Linked DNA regions of Homo sapiens: regions 2 and 3 are each linked to region 1. Evidence: promoter capture Hi-C in 16 types of primary human blood cells and fetal thymus (Javierre and others, 2016). All regions are on one chromosome and are shown on one strand. The core of a region is centred on a gene start or on the middle of the fragment in contact, and the rest is flanking DNA. Distances in the headings are between cores, read along the strand shown. Region 1 holds the start of PRMT2 (protein arginine methyltransferase 2). Region 2 overlaps PCNT (pericentrin). Region 3 overlaps LOC124905046 (a long non-coding RNA gene).

Region 1 (4,145 bases), core at 301-2,800:
ATGTTTTGGGGCTAAGTATTTCCTTAGAATTGTTATGGTGCCCAATGCAGGATGTCACCTTACAGGCACTGCGTTTCCTCTGCCTCACAATCTTCACATTTAAGCATTCTACTGCCGGTGGCCACCTTCCAAGGCACAAGCCAAGCTCCATCACATCTGTGAGCTGACGCTTAGCTCTCTGTAATGCTCACATTCATTAAACACAGATTTTTAGGAAGTGGAACGGAAATTACCTGCGATTCACTTCTGGGACAGTCACCTGATGTTGCCATAGTTCTCTTAGGCTCTGCCTCATAACTGCTGATTTATTTCATTTTCTTTTCCATTTCTACTTTTAAAAAGAGAAGGAGACACAAAGTACTTGTTACATTGCTTAATAATTGAGTTCACTTAACTTCTAATGTGCATGATGTCCTCTACCAAATAGAAGTAAAATGTGTATGTGTGAAGATTAGTGTAGAAATGAAAATTTACAATACTTTACAGAGACAAAAGCATTTAAAAATCATAAACTTCAAATAGTGTGTTTTCTTCACTAGTCTGCAAGGTGTTAATCTTGTTCATTTGCTGAAGCCTGTTAGTTTCTGTTAGATCAGGTGTCGACTTAAGGCAATAAATCAGTATTCATTAATTTCTTAGAAGTGTGATAGCTTTAATTCCAATTAAAAGTCCCTACCTGGGACCTTACAGTGTTTCCACTAACAGGAACCAAGGTCTGCATCTTCCAGTCTTTTCCTTCTTCTCAATTCGTATTTTTCCAGTGATAGTGTAATCCACACACTGCTCTGGGATCAATGTGTTTTTAAAATTGCATAGCAATTCTTTGTTTAAAATGCATGCTTCACTTCTAAATCCAGACTTGAAGCTTATTTTTGTGATATTCGTAGTTACAAATGCTTACTGATTTGCATAATTATATTTTCATTGGAAGACCTGGGTCCAAACTGGGACGGGGTCGGAGTGGAGGCCGCAGTGCGCGCAGGACCCTGCCCTCCTAAGATGCCCTCGGGAGGAACAGGATCATGGAGGGTTGGAACAGGTGGCCAGTGAAGGGGGGTGAGAAGGGGGCAGGAAGCGAGAGGGCCACGCGTGGACGCAGGGGCACGAGAGGGTCAGGCTGGGACAGCGCCGCGAGCTTCGGGGCAGGGGCCGCCAGGCAGGTGGGCGTGGCCGCGAAGGGCGTGACAGAGATGGTGGTGGGGTGGGCGTGGCCGTAGAAGGCGCTGGACGGCGGGAGTGGCCGGGAAGGGGTGCGGCACGCAGGGAAGGGTGTGACGGGGACCGAGCTCCCGTTTGGACGCCAGGGAAAGTGGCTGAGATCGCGAAGGCGCTCGGAGGTCCCAAAAGGGGGCGGAGGCCTCTGTCCGCCAGCGACGCACACGCAGTGCGAGGACGCCTCACCTGGCCTGTCCTTCCTTACGTGCAGTCCAGCCATCTGAGCTGCCCATCAGGACACCTACCTCAATCGCGTTTCTCCGCTGAGTTCCGCGTCCACACCGCCAGCGCGGAGGGGTGGACGGTCCTTTCCAGGAGCCTGAGCCACCGCCCTCAACCCGCGCAAGCGCAGTGCACGCAGGCCGTCAGCCGGGAAGGCCCCGCCCAGGGCCCGGCGCCCCGCGCAGGCGCAGTCCTAAGACGTCCCCCATTCCAGGGAAGCCAAGCCACCGCCCTCGACTTGCGCCGGCGCGTCGCTCACAGATCGTCTGCAGCTGGGGCTGCGCCCCGCGCAGGCGCACTTCACATCTGCGCGTCCCGCGGTCTTGCGAGGCGAGGCCAGGTTCTCCATGTGTGGAGCTCGTCCCCAATCGCCCAGCCCAGCCGCGGGGTTGGGGGGCTCGGCTTGGGGTCCGACCCAGAGGGGCGCGGGGCAGGAGTCCGACCTGGGGCGGGGGGCGGGTTTGGGCCATTCACGGCTTGGGAAGCGACAACCCCTACGAGCCACAAAATGGCTGGGGCTTGGGGGACCCCCCACCTCCTCTGTCTTCCCGCAAATAATTCAGTTAACTTTCCCATCCGCGCTGCGCAGTGTGCGCCCTCTGCCTTTCTTCTGGATAAGTGGAAGCAGAATGATGACGTTTCTGTTGTGGGGAGAGGAAGTTTGGGGTTAAGGAGAAATGGGTGGCGCTAATGCCTGTAAAACATAAAATTCGAAGCCCCCCCTCCCCCGCAGCCGTCTGACTGGACTCCCTCCTTTACCAGGGGACCCTGAAGTTCAACCTGAGAGACTATTCTGGCCTCGAAGGGAAGTAAGAGTTGGACATGCCTTTTTACACTCCTCCAGCATTAACATCAAGGCAGACCTTAAGTCTGATTTAAAAAAAAAAATGTGGAAGGAAAATAAATTTGGGGGCCGCAAAATCATTAAGCTTAAAAGGAAAAGTCAAGTTGGGAACTGCTTAGGGCAAACCTGCCTCCCATTCTGTTCAAAGTCATCTCTCAGCTCACTGAGATAAATGCGTATCTGATTGCCACCTCTGGAGAGGCTAACCAGAAACTCAAGGGAATGCAATGATTTGTCTCATATTTACCTATGACCTGGAAGCTCCCTCCTGCCTTTGCTTTGAGTTGTCCCGCCCTTCCGGACCAAACCAATGTTCATCTTACATATATTGATTGATGTCTCATGTCTCCCTAAAACGTATAAAACCAAACTGTGCTCTGACCACCTTGGGCACATGTCATCAGGGCCTCCGACGGCCGTGTCATGGGCGTGCATCCTTAAATTCAGCAAAATAAACTTCCTAAGTTGACTGAGATCTGACTCAGATATTCAAGGTTCACATTTTGGTAACCACAAAGGGATTCTGAGTAGAGGTGCCACTGACCTTTGACAAATCTGTCAGTCCTTAGTACCAGCTTGAGCTATCTTTATGGCTCAAACCAATAGGACAATTTGCTGAGGCCTGGAAGCACCCCCTCCAGAGAATCCCTGATCTACCCAGATTTAGTCAAGATCTAGTTTATTTTGCTGTACAACTCCTTTTGTGTGTTGGGCGGGGGTTGGGGGGCGGGGTGTGCTTTACTCTCTTCCAACATAAGGAAGTAGTAGTTTTTTCCTGCTTCCATGACAATGGAAGGCAGGTAACTCGTTTATGGAGTTTGAGCTCGCTTCCCACAGGAAAGATGAGGGGTTTTCTTCCTCTGCTTCTAGGGTGGTAGAGAGCAATCTTCAGCCTCAGACCCATCCCTAGGAAGTAACTGAATTGGGGTTTGTCTTGGCTATTAAGATTAACAACCAGCTGGTCTTAATTTCTCCTTACCATTAGTGTGCTCAGTAACCTTATAAATTGCCCAATCCTTCGTTTCGCTTAACTGGTTTTTTTGTTGTTGTTTCTGTTTTTTGTTCTTTTGTCTTTTTCGCATTGAGTTTGACGAACTCTATCTGACTTGATCGAAACCAAAGGAAAGTTCCAAATTATGAGAAGTGAGGCCTCTGAAGTGGCTAAGTTTCAACCCCTCCCCACCACACACACACACACAAAAGGTGATGTGGTGGGGGGAGAAAAACAGCTAGCAAAAGGAAAAAGAAAAAAAAAATTTATTTTGACTACTTAAAGGGCTTTTCTTACATAACAAGGCCACATTTTTGCTAGCCAGACCAACCAAAAAGAGTAATGTCTGTCACCCCACACTGCAGTTCCATACCTAAGGGTTCTGCCTTCTTTTTTTCCACCACCACAGCCTGGGTTTAGTTCCTAAATTAAGCCCTTTCTGGTTTGATACTTGGTACTTCTGAAATAGCAGCAATTAGTCCTAGCTGAAATATGATAATGAGATTTATTTATTTATTTAGACAGAGTCTGGCTCTGTGTTCCAGGCTGGGGTGCAGTGGCACAATCTCAGCTCACTGCAACCTCCACCTCCCAGGTTCAAGTGATTCCCATGCCTTAGCCTCCTGAGTAGCTGGCATTATAGGCCTGCACCACCACACCCAGCTCATTTTTGTATTTTTTTGGTAGAGATGGGGTTTCACCATGTTGGCCAGGCTGGTCTCAAACTGGCCTCAAGTGATCCGCCTACCTCGGCCTCCCAAAGTGTTGGGATTACAGGCATGAGCCACCATGCCCAGCCAGTAATGAGATTGAAAAAGTTTATTTTTAAGGAGCTCAATGGTTAAAAGCTTAATTAAAAGCTAACATCCAACA
Region 2 (4,145 bases), core at 986-3,485, 200 kb after region 1:
GCTGCAAGGGACCAGTGAGCGCCAGGTGGCGTGGGTGCACACCTGTCCACGGCCTGGCTGGTGAAGCTGGTGAGAAGCCGGGCGGCAGAGAGCAGCCGCTGCCTCATCGCCTCCAGCTCTCGCTGCTGTTCCCGGAGGTGGTCCGCATCCGAGCCGGCAGCCCTGCGGGCAGAACCTAGGTGGAGGCGGCTGCCAGGCACCTCGTCCTTCGACTCCAGGTCTCTCACTGTCTGCTGAAGCTGCTTGATCTTATGCAAGTCACGCTGACGCTGCAGTTCTAATTCTCGCTGTTGTTAACAGAAAAAAGACAGAGAAGACGTTCACGTCAGTGTCCAAAAACAAAACTGCCGGCCGGGCGCGGTGGTTCATGCCTGTAATCCTAGCACTTTGGGAGGCCGAGGCGGGCAGATCATGAGGTCAGGAGATTGAGACCATGCTGGCCAACACAGTGAAACCCCACCTCTACTAAAAATACAAAAAATTAGCCGGGCGTGGTGGCGGGCGCCTGTAGTCCCAGCTACTCGAGAGGATGAGGCAGGAGAATGGCGTGAACCCGGGAGGCAGAGCTTGCAGTGAGCCGAGATTGCGCCACTGCACTTCAGCCTGGACAACAGAGTGAGACTCCATCTCAAACAAAACAAAACAAAACAAAACACAAAACTGCCAGCAGGGTGTGGTGGCTCACGCCTGTAATCCCAGCACTTTGGGAGACTGCAGCAAGCGGATCACCTGAGGTCAGGAGTTCGAGACCAGTCTGGCCAACATGAGGAAACCCCGTCTCTACTAAAAATATAAAAATTAGCTGGGCGTGGTGGTGCGCACCTGTAATCCCAGCTACTCGGGAGGCTGAGGCAGGAGAATCACTTGAACCTAGAAGGTAGAGGTTACAGTGAGCTGAGATTGCGCCACTGCACTCCAGCCTGGCGACAGAGTGAGACTCCATCTACCAAAAAAAACCAAACCAAAACAAAAAAAACAACAACTGCCAAGCAAAAGCCCAAAACACACAGCCGCGTTACAGGGGAGGCCCCTCACAGACCAGAAACAGGCCCTCGGGCAGGCAGCCCCTGTGGTCCTGTACTGGGACCCACAGCTGACACACTGCACACCCTCGTGCTGTGCTGCTCTGTGTCCCTCCAGCATGGAGGCAGCTGAATCACACACCCCAGAATGATTCAGTGGTAAAAGCGTTTCCATCGTAGTTTTTAAAACTATCAGGCTTTCATCAGGCCCAGGGCAAGCACGCGGGGTCCAAAGGAGAGGAGCCTGAGAAGCTGAAACAGAACAGACCGGATGACGCTTCCCTGTGCCCTGGTCCCACTCATCCACATATGTACACGCACACGCCCAGACGCTCATACCAACATAGACACAGACAGGCACATTTGTGCATGTGAACATGCACACACGTATGAGCCTGAGTGCAGCCCTGGGGCTGAGCCTGGGTGGCCACGTGGGCCTGAGCTCCTAAGCCAGACCTCAAGGAGCAGCAGCCTTTCCTTCTGCAGGACGGGGGCACAGGCCATGTCTGGTGCCCGGGAGAAGCGTGTCAGCAAGCGCCTGAGCCCCTGCCCAGGGCCCGACTCCCACCAGGCAGGGGACAGAAGGTCTACTGCACGATGGGGCAAGGAAGGACGAAGCAGCCTCTGAAGGGCCTCTGATTCCCAGCAGCGCCGCTGGGGCTTCCTTGTGACAACACAAAGACAGATCCAGCGGGAAGAGGCCCAAGATGCAGACACACAGAGGCGGCTTGCCGTGTCAGGGAGGGAACCCCAGCACTGAGCTGAGGCCTTCCCAGCCCAGAGGACCCACAGCTGAGCCTGCACTGTGTGGCACCAGCGCCCCTGCCACTGCGGTGACCAGGGTGCAGCTCAGACTCTACCCTCCTGACAGCGCCTCACTCAATGCTCGGGCCTCTTAAACAGGAATGAGTATCTTTTCTATTTTCTAGTAAGGAAAGTAAGATACAGAGGAACTAATGAGATTGTATTATTTAGAAAAGATGGAATTGTATCCAGCATGCCACTATCTTGGGAGGCTTCCATGGCTACAGCTAGAGAAGGGTTCTATAATCCAGATCAAATTCACTATCCTCAGTAAAAAACACTCTGGAGGCCGGGCACAGTGGCTCACGCCTGTAATCCAGCACTTTGGGAGGCCAAGGTGGGCGGATCAATCACAAGGTCAGGAGTTCAAGACCAGCCTGACCAATGTGGTAAAACCCCGTCTCTACTAAAAATACAAAAATTAGCTGGGCTGGGCGTGGTGACATGCACCTGTAATCCCAGCTACTCAGGAGGCTGAGGCAGGAGAATCACTTGAACCCGGGAGGTGGAGGTTGCAGTGAGCCAAGATCGTGCCATTGCACTCCAGCTTGGAAGACAGAGCGAGACTCTACCTCAAAAAAAAAATTAATAAATAAATCACTCTGGAAGGGCCACCTCACTCAAAATACAGGTCAAGATGCATCCTGAAGCAAGCAACTTAGAAAATATTTTCTAAGCACTCATGTTACTATTTTTTTTAAGAAACAATCAAAATTAAAGGTTTTGGCTGGCAACTTCAGGCGTGGTTTCAGGAAGTTCTCAAAAAGTAAAGACTCCTTTGAGCATTCCATCAAAGGATGAGCTCTTGCCCAGGAGAAAGGCAAACACACACACCACGTCTCACCCTCAGCTGGGGTCCTGTGTAGACGCCCCTGCCATGCTTGGCCACACTGTCTGTACCACCAAACCACCTCCCTACTCTCCAAGGCTTCTGGAGATAAAAAAAACTACGACTATTCCAAAGAGTGTTTTTGTTTTTTTGAGATGGAGTCTCGCTCTTGTTGCCCAGGCTGAAGTGCAGCGGTGCAATCCCGGCTCACTGCAACCTCCGCCTTGCGGGTTCAAGCAATTCTCCTGCCCCAGCCTCCCGAATAGCTGGGATTACAGGTGCACACTACCATGCCCGGCTAATTTTTTGTATTTTTAGTAGAAATGGGCTTTCGCCTTGTTGGCCAGGCTGGTCTTGAACTCCTGACCTCAAATGATCTGCCTGCCTTGGCCTCCCAAAGTGCTGGGATTACAGGCATCGGCCACCGTGCCCGGCCTGCTCTCATCCCTTCTATTCAACATTGTTGAGTTCGTGCCACTGCACTCCAGCCTGAGTGACGGAATGAGACTCCATCTCAAAAAATAAATAAGTAAATAAATTTAACAAAAGTATAAAACTTATATTTTGAAAGCAATGAAACACTACTGAAAGAAACTAAAGAAGGCCTAAGTAAACAGCCGAGTGTGGTGGCTGACGCCTGTAATCCCAGCAGTCTGAGAGGCCCAGGCGGGCGGATCACCTGAGGTCAGAAGTTTGAGACCAGCCTGGCCAACATGGAAAACCCTGTCTCTACTAATCCAAAAATTAGCCAGGCGTGGTGGCATGTGCCTGCAGTCCCAGCTACGTGGGAGGCTGAGGCAGAAGAATTGCTTGAACCCAGGAGGCGGCGACTGCAGTGAGCTGAGATCACATCACTGCACTCCAGCCTGGGTGACAGAGCCAGACCCTATCTCAAAAAAATCCTAATTAAATGAAGAGACACATTCTGTAATCGTGGATCAAAAGACCTCACACTGTCCAGATGTCAATACTACCCAGAGCAATCAGCACATTTAATGCCATCCCTAAGAAAATCCCAGTGGCAGGTTCTGCAGAAATACAAACACCAATCCTCAAATTCCTGTGGAATAGCAAGAAGCCCCACAGAGCTGAAACTATCTTGAAGAGGAAGAACGAAGTTGGAGAACTCACACTTCCTGATTTCAATACTTTCTAGAAAGCTACAGTAACAGCAGTGTGGTGCCAGCGTCAGGGCACACAGACCAGAGCAGACCAGGTCAGAGGGCCAGACATAAATCTCGCGTCCCCCACGTGAACCATCCTAACTCCAATTGCTTATCGTTTTTAGGTGTGGACGCTCCGCCGGCAGGCGGCTCTCACCAGCTTCTCCTTGTCTCTCTGCCACTTCCTCCACTGCTCCGCAGCCGCTGGGCTCTGCCTGGCCTCCGCGCTCCTCCTCGCAGCCTTGCGTCCTTCTTGCTCTTTCAACCGTGGGTGTGACTGCTCTAATTCTGCCTGCAACCACGCTGGTTTCTCCCTCTCTCTCTCCA
Region 3 (4,145 bases), core at 507-3,006, 180 kb after region 1:
TTTCTCACAATATGATGGCTGGATTCCAAGGGCAATCTAAAGACAAAGGACAAAAGAAAGCTGTATCCTTTTTGTGAACCAGCCTCAGAAGTTGCATACCATCACTTCGGCTACTTCCTATTTGGAAGAAATGAGTCACTAAATTACCCATATTCAAAAGGAGAGGAATTAGGCTTCATCTTCTAAAGGGAAGAATATCAAAAAATTTGCCAGTATATTTTTAAAACACCACACTTGGAAAAAGCCATGGGCCATGGTAAGCAAAATTGAAATGGCAAAATTGCTATGGCAGACAGTGGTGGAAGGGAGTAAAAGGTTCAGGGGTGTGGGCATGTTGAAATTTATATACTCCGTGCATCTAGAAGACATTTGAGACGATCATATTCCACATGAAGGTGTAAATAACACGTCATTTATAAAGATCATTAGACATAGGATGATGAAAGGGGCACTGATGTCACTAAAATATTCAGTGATGGCTCATCTCTGTAGGCAAGAATGACAATAGAAAGGCTGTTCCAGAACTTGGCTGGGTGATAGCACTGGGGATGATAGGATCCTAAGACAAAAGAGGCCATTCTGGGACATAGTGGGGACCAAAGAAAAAAACCCAAGAAGCCAAAGGCAACACTTAGCTGGCAGAAGTCAGAGGATTGCAATTATAGCAGCCAGCAGGGTCTGAGTGGCAGCCAAGGGGACCTCACTTGTATGGTTATAGAACTGGTCAATAAACATGGCATCCCTGGAGGCAAAACAGGTGGGCAGCTAAGAAGGGTACTACTCAGCTGGCAAAAAAAAAAAAAAAAAAAAAAATCCATCCAGGCACGGTGGCCTGTGCCTGTAATCTCAGCATTTGGGGAAGCTAAGGTGGGAGGATCACTTGAGCCCAGGAGTTCAAGATTACAGTGAGCTGTGGTTGCACCACTGCACTCCAGCCCGGGCAATGTGGCAAGACTGTCTCAATTGAAAAAAATAAATAAAGATGCTTGTCCCAGTTTTAAAAAATCAGGATTCCATGCCCAGCTTCTGGAACTGAGCCAGTTTTCAGAAATGGAAACATTACTTGAGAGGTGGCCAAACACCAGGAAGAAGGACCTATAACAGTACAAGTACAACAGAAATGAATCCCCAGGTACTTTTCCAAAGGGTCTGATAGCAATTTCTTTTGATAACTACATCCTGGAGAAAAGTGATTAGCCAAACATTTGGAAGACTTGTGGACACAGGGTCTAAATTGATGTCCAGATGCCTAGAATATCATCCCCTTCTGTTAGAGTGGCTGCATGTGGTGGCCAGGTAATTGATGGAGTTCTGCTAAAGGTCCAGCTTACAGTGGACCCGTAGACCTAGTGGACTGATCTAGTGATATTTTCTTAGCCTTCGAGTGAGTAATTGGCATTGACATACTTGGCAGTGAATGCTCATTCCAGGTCCCTGACCTATAGAGTTAGATAACAAAATGGAAAAAGCCAAACAGAAACCTGAAACTGCCCCATCCCCTACCAAGATTATAAAACAATTATCCCAGAGCGGGAATGGCAGAGATAAGTGCCACTTCTAAGGATCCAAGTGATGTAAAGTGGTGGTTACCAACATTTTTAATTTACCAGCATGACCCCTGCAGAAGTCACAAGGATCCTGGAGAATGGCAGCCTACTCTATTTGCTGTCAACCAGTAGTTGTTTTGGGTACACTGCTGCAAACTCATCTAAGAAGTATCCCTGGCCGGGCACAGTGGCTCACGCCTGTAATCCCAGCACTTTGGGAGGATAAGGTGGGCGGAACACGAGGTCAGGAGTTCAGTCTGGCCAACATAGTGAAACCCTGTCTCTACTAAAAATACAAAAAATTAGCTGGGTGTGGTGGTGTGCACCTGTAATCCCAGCTACTTGGGAGGCTGAGGCAGGAGAATCCCATGAACCTGGGAGGTGGAGGTTGCAGTGAGCCGAGATCATGCCATTGCACTCCAGCCCAGGTGACAGTGTGAGACTCTATCTCAAAAAAAAAAAAAAAAAGTATCCGTAATAGCCTCTCTGCCAGATATGGTAGGTAGTTGTTGACTAGGTGGATTTGTTCTTTTCTGTACCTATCAGGGATCAAAAACATTTTGCATTTGCATGGAATTAAAATGCAGTTTTGCCGGAAGGTTATGTTACTTCTCTTGCTCTCTGTCGTAATCCAAAGAGATCTGGACCACCTAGACATCCTGTAGAATATTACATTGTTCCTTTACATCAGTGACATGTTGATCAGCCAGATGAGAAGTGCAGAAGATCCTGGAGACAGCTGCTCCAGAGAGTGGCATATAAACCCTACAGGAATCCAGGAGCCTGCTACAATCCTAACATTTTTAGGGCTCCAGTGGTCAGGGGTGCTCTAGGGCATCCCTTCCAAAAGCGAATGAATTATTGCTGCTTGCACCTCCTGCCGTTAAGAAAGCAAGACGCTTGTTGGTTCTCGAGCTAGTTCTTGCCTCAGGTTCTGGAGGCAGCATGTCCCACACCTGGGAGTATTGCTCTGGTCCAGAGACTAGTGGAATTGGGAGATTTCCAATTTTGGAAAGAGCCCAGAACTGGAAACGTCTGTACAGTAGATCCGGGTTGTGATGAAGTAATGCTATTGCCTGGGCCATATAGTCCAACAGGTGTTTTTTTGGTGTTATTAATGGTGCAGAATGATGCAATGTAGAGATTCTGTCATGCCACCTGGAGCAGAGAATTGTATGCATTTGGGGGGCGGGCGGGTGTAGATCTGTCTTCTGGTATGCCACTTGTCTCTGACAGAGATGGAACGCCTGACCGTAAGCCACCAGGTGACCATGCAACCAGAACTGCCTGTTAATGTTAAACTAGCAAAAGTCATAACATCAGTTGGGGCCAGCAACGGTCCCTCATAATATGGAAGTAGTATATTCAAGGTTGAGCATGAGAATGTACAGAGGTTACCAAATGAGCTGCAGAGCACAGATGCACATGACTTCCAGAACTGTTGGATCAGCCACAATGTCATTTCACACCTGTGACAGTGTGAGGGGGCCCTTATAGCCAGTTGACAGGAGTAAAAATCGTGAGCATGGTGTATAAATGGGTTGGCTCAGTATGAGTTCAAAATGAAAATAGCAGCTACATTACAGCCTTCTCAGGGGTGACCTTGAAAAATGGTGATAAGGGCATATCCTCTCAATAGGCAGAATTTCAGGCAGAGCTCCTGGTCGTCCACTTTTTTGTGGAAGAAGTAGCCCAAGGTGAGAATATACATGGAGCCATGGGCAATGCTAGAGGGCCTGGGTAACTGGTTAAGGGCCTGGAAGGAAAACAATCGGAAGTTGGAGATAAGGAGGTGTGTGGTAGATTTATGTGGTCAGATAAATTGGAATAGCACGAAGTACAATGTTCTTTGTATACAATGTTAATGCCCACCAGAGAGCATCCATGAAAGAAGCATTATACAACCAAGTAGACAGTTGACTCAGCCAGTTGATATTGGACAGCATCTTTTATTGGCTACTGTACTACTGGCATGATGGGCACATGGACAAGGTAGCCAAGGTGATGGACGCTGTTCATGGGCCTGACAGCAACCCATGCTCTCTACCCAGCTTTGGTTAATATCTAGCTGCCCCTGAATATCTAACCTGCCAGCAAAAGAGATCTACCCGGCTTTGGTTAATATCTAGCTGCCCCTAAATATCTAACCTGCCAGCAAAAGAGACCAGTGCTATACTCCCATTGTGGGTCACTTCATCAAGGAGCACAAACATCCAGGTTTACAGAGGTCTTTAGACATAGTCCCCATTTTATAAGGAGAGTTTACTGTATTGGAACTCTCCCATCCTGGAAGGGCTGGTGGTTCACTTTTCACAAGAATAGTCTCATATTCCAGATACGAGGCTTGTCTTTTCCTACTCACAAGTGTCAGCCAGAAAGGCTTAAGGAGTGTTTGTTTCACTGACATAAGCACACAACATTTCAAACGAGATTCACTTTATAGCCAAGGAAGTGTAGTGTCCATGGGCCCTCCTGCCTGGCAGAGCGCTGAGACAGCATGCTAAAGGCACAGCCTCCCAAAGGCATGAGCCACTGAGCCCGGCACTGAAGACTTCCTTGAAACCGTTCTTTGCAATCTTTCTGTTATTGACCAGCTGG

What was found. Contacts are between HindIII fragments. The CHiCAGO score rates a contact against its expected background, and 5 or more counts as called.
Region 2: a fragment that was not itself captured here is called in contact with the fragment with the promoter of PRMT2 in region 1 in 2 of 17 cell types (naive CD8 T cells and total CD8 T cells); the score reaches 5.8 in naive CD8 T cells.
Region 3: a contact is called between a fragment that was not itself captured here and the fragment with the promoter of PRMT2 in region 1, in 10 of 17 cell types (naive CD4 T cells, total CD4 T cells, naive CD8 T cells and 7 more). The highest score is 13.7, in naive CD4 T cells.

Annotation. Positions count from the first base shown.
Region 1 is chr21:46,633,079-46,637,223 of GRCh38, reverse strand. It overlaps PRMT2 (protein arginine methyltransferase 2), which reads right to left and starts at 1,550. Exons shown (of 12, transcript NM_206962.4): 1 at 1,461-1,550; 2 at 677-785; 3 at 234-328. The coding sequence starts at 272. RefSeq lists silencers at 1,132-1,681, 1,792-2,011 and an enhancer at 1,782-2,452. The HindIII fragment of the contact is 1,501 bases long and covers 868-2,368 here.
Region 2 is chr21:46,432,046-46,436,190 of GRCh38, reverse strand. PCNT (pericentrin) reads right to left here. Exons shown (of 47, transcript NM_006031.6): 38 at 3,976-4,145; 39 at 43-287. Among named protein-coding and RNA genes, the nearest start is that of DIP2A, 25 kb to the left of the region's middle. The HindIII fragment of the contact is 8,168 bases long and covers 1-4,145 here.
Region 3 is chr21:46,451,614-46,455,758 of GRCh38, reverse strand. LOC124905046 (a long non-coding RNA gene) reads left to right here. Exons shown (of 2, transcript XR_007067915.1): 2 at 1-4,145. Among named protein-coding and RNA genes, the nearest start is that of DIP2A, 5.2 kb to the left of the region's middle. The HindIII fragment of the contact is 7,328 bases long and covers 1-4,145 here.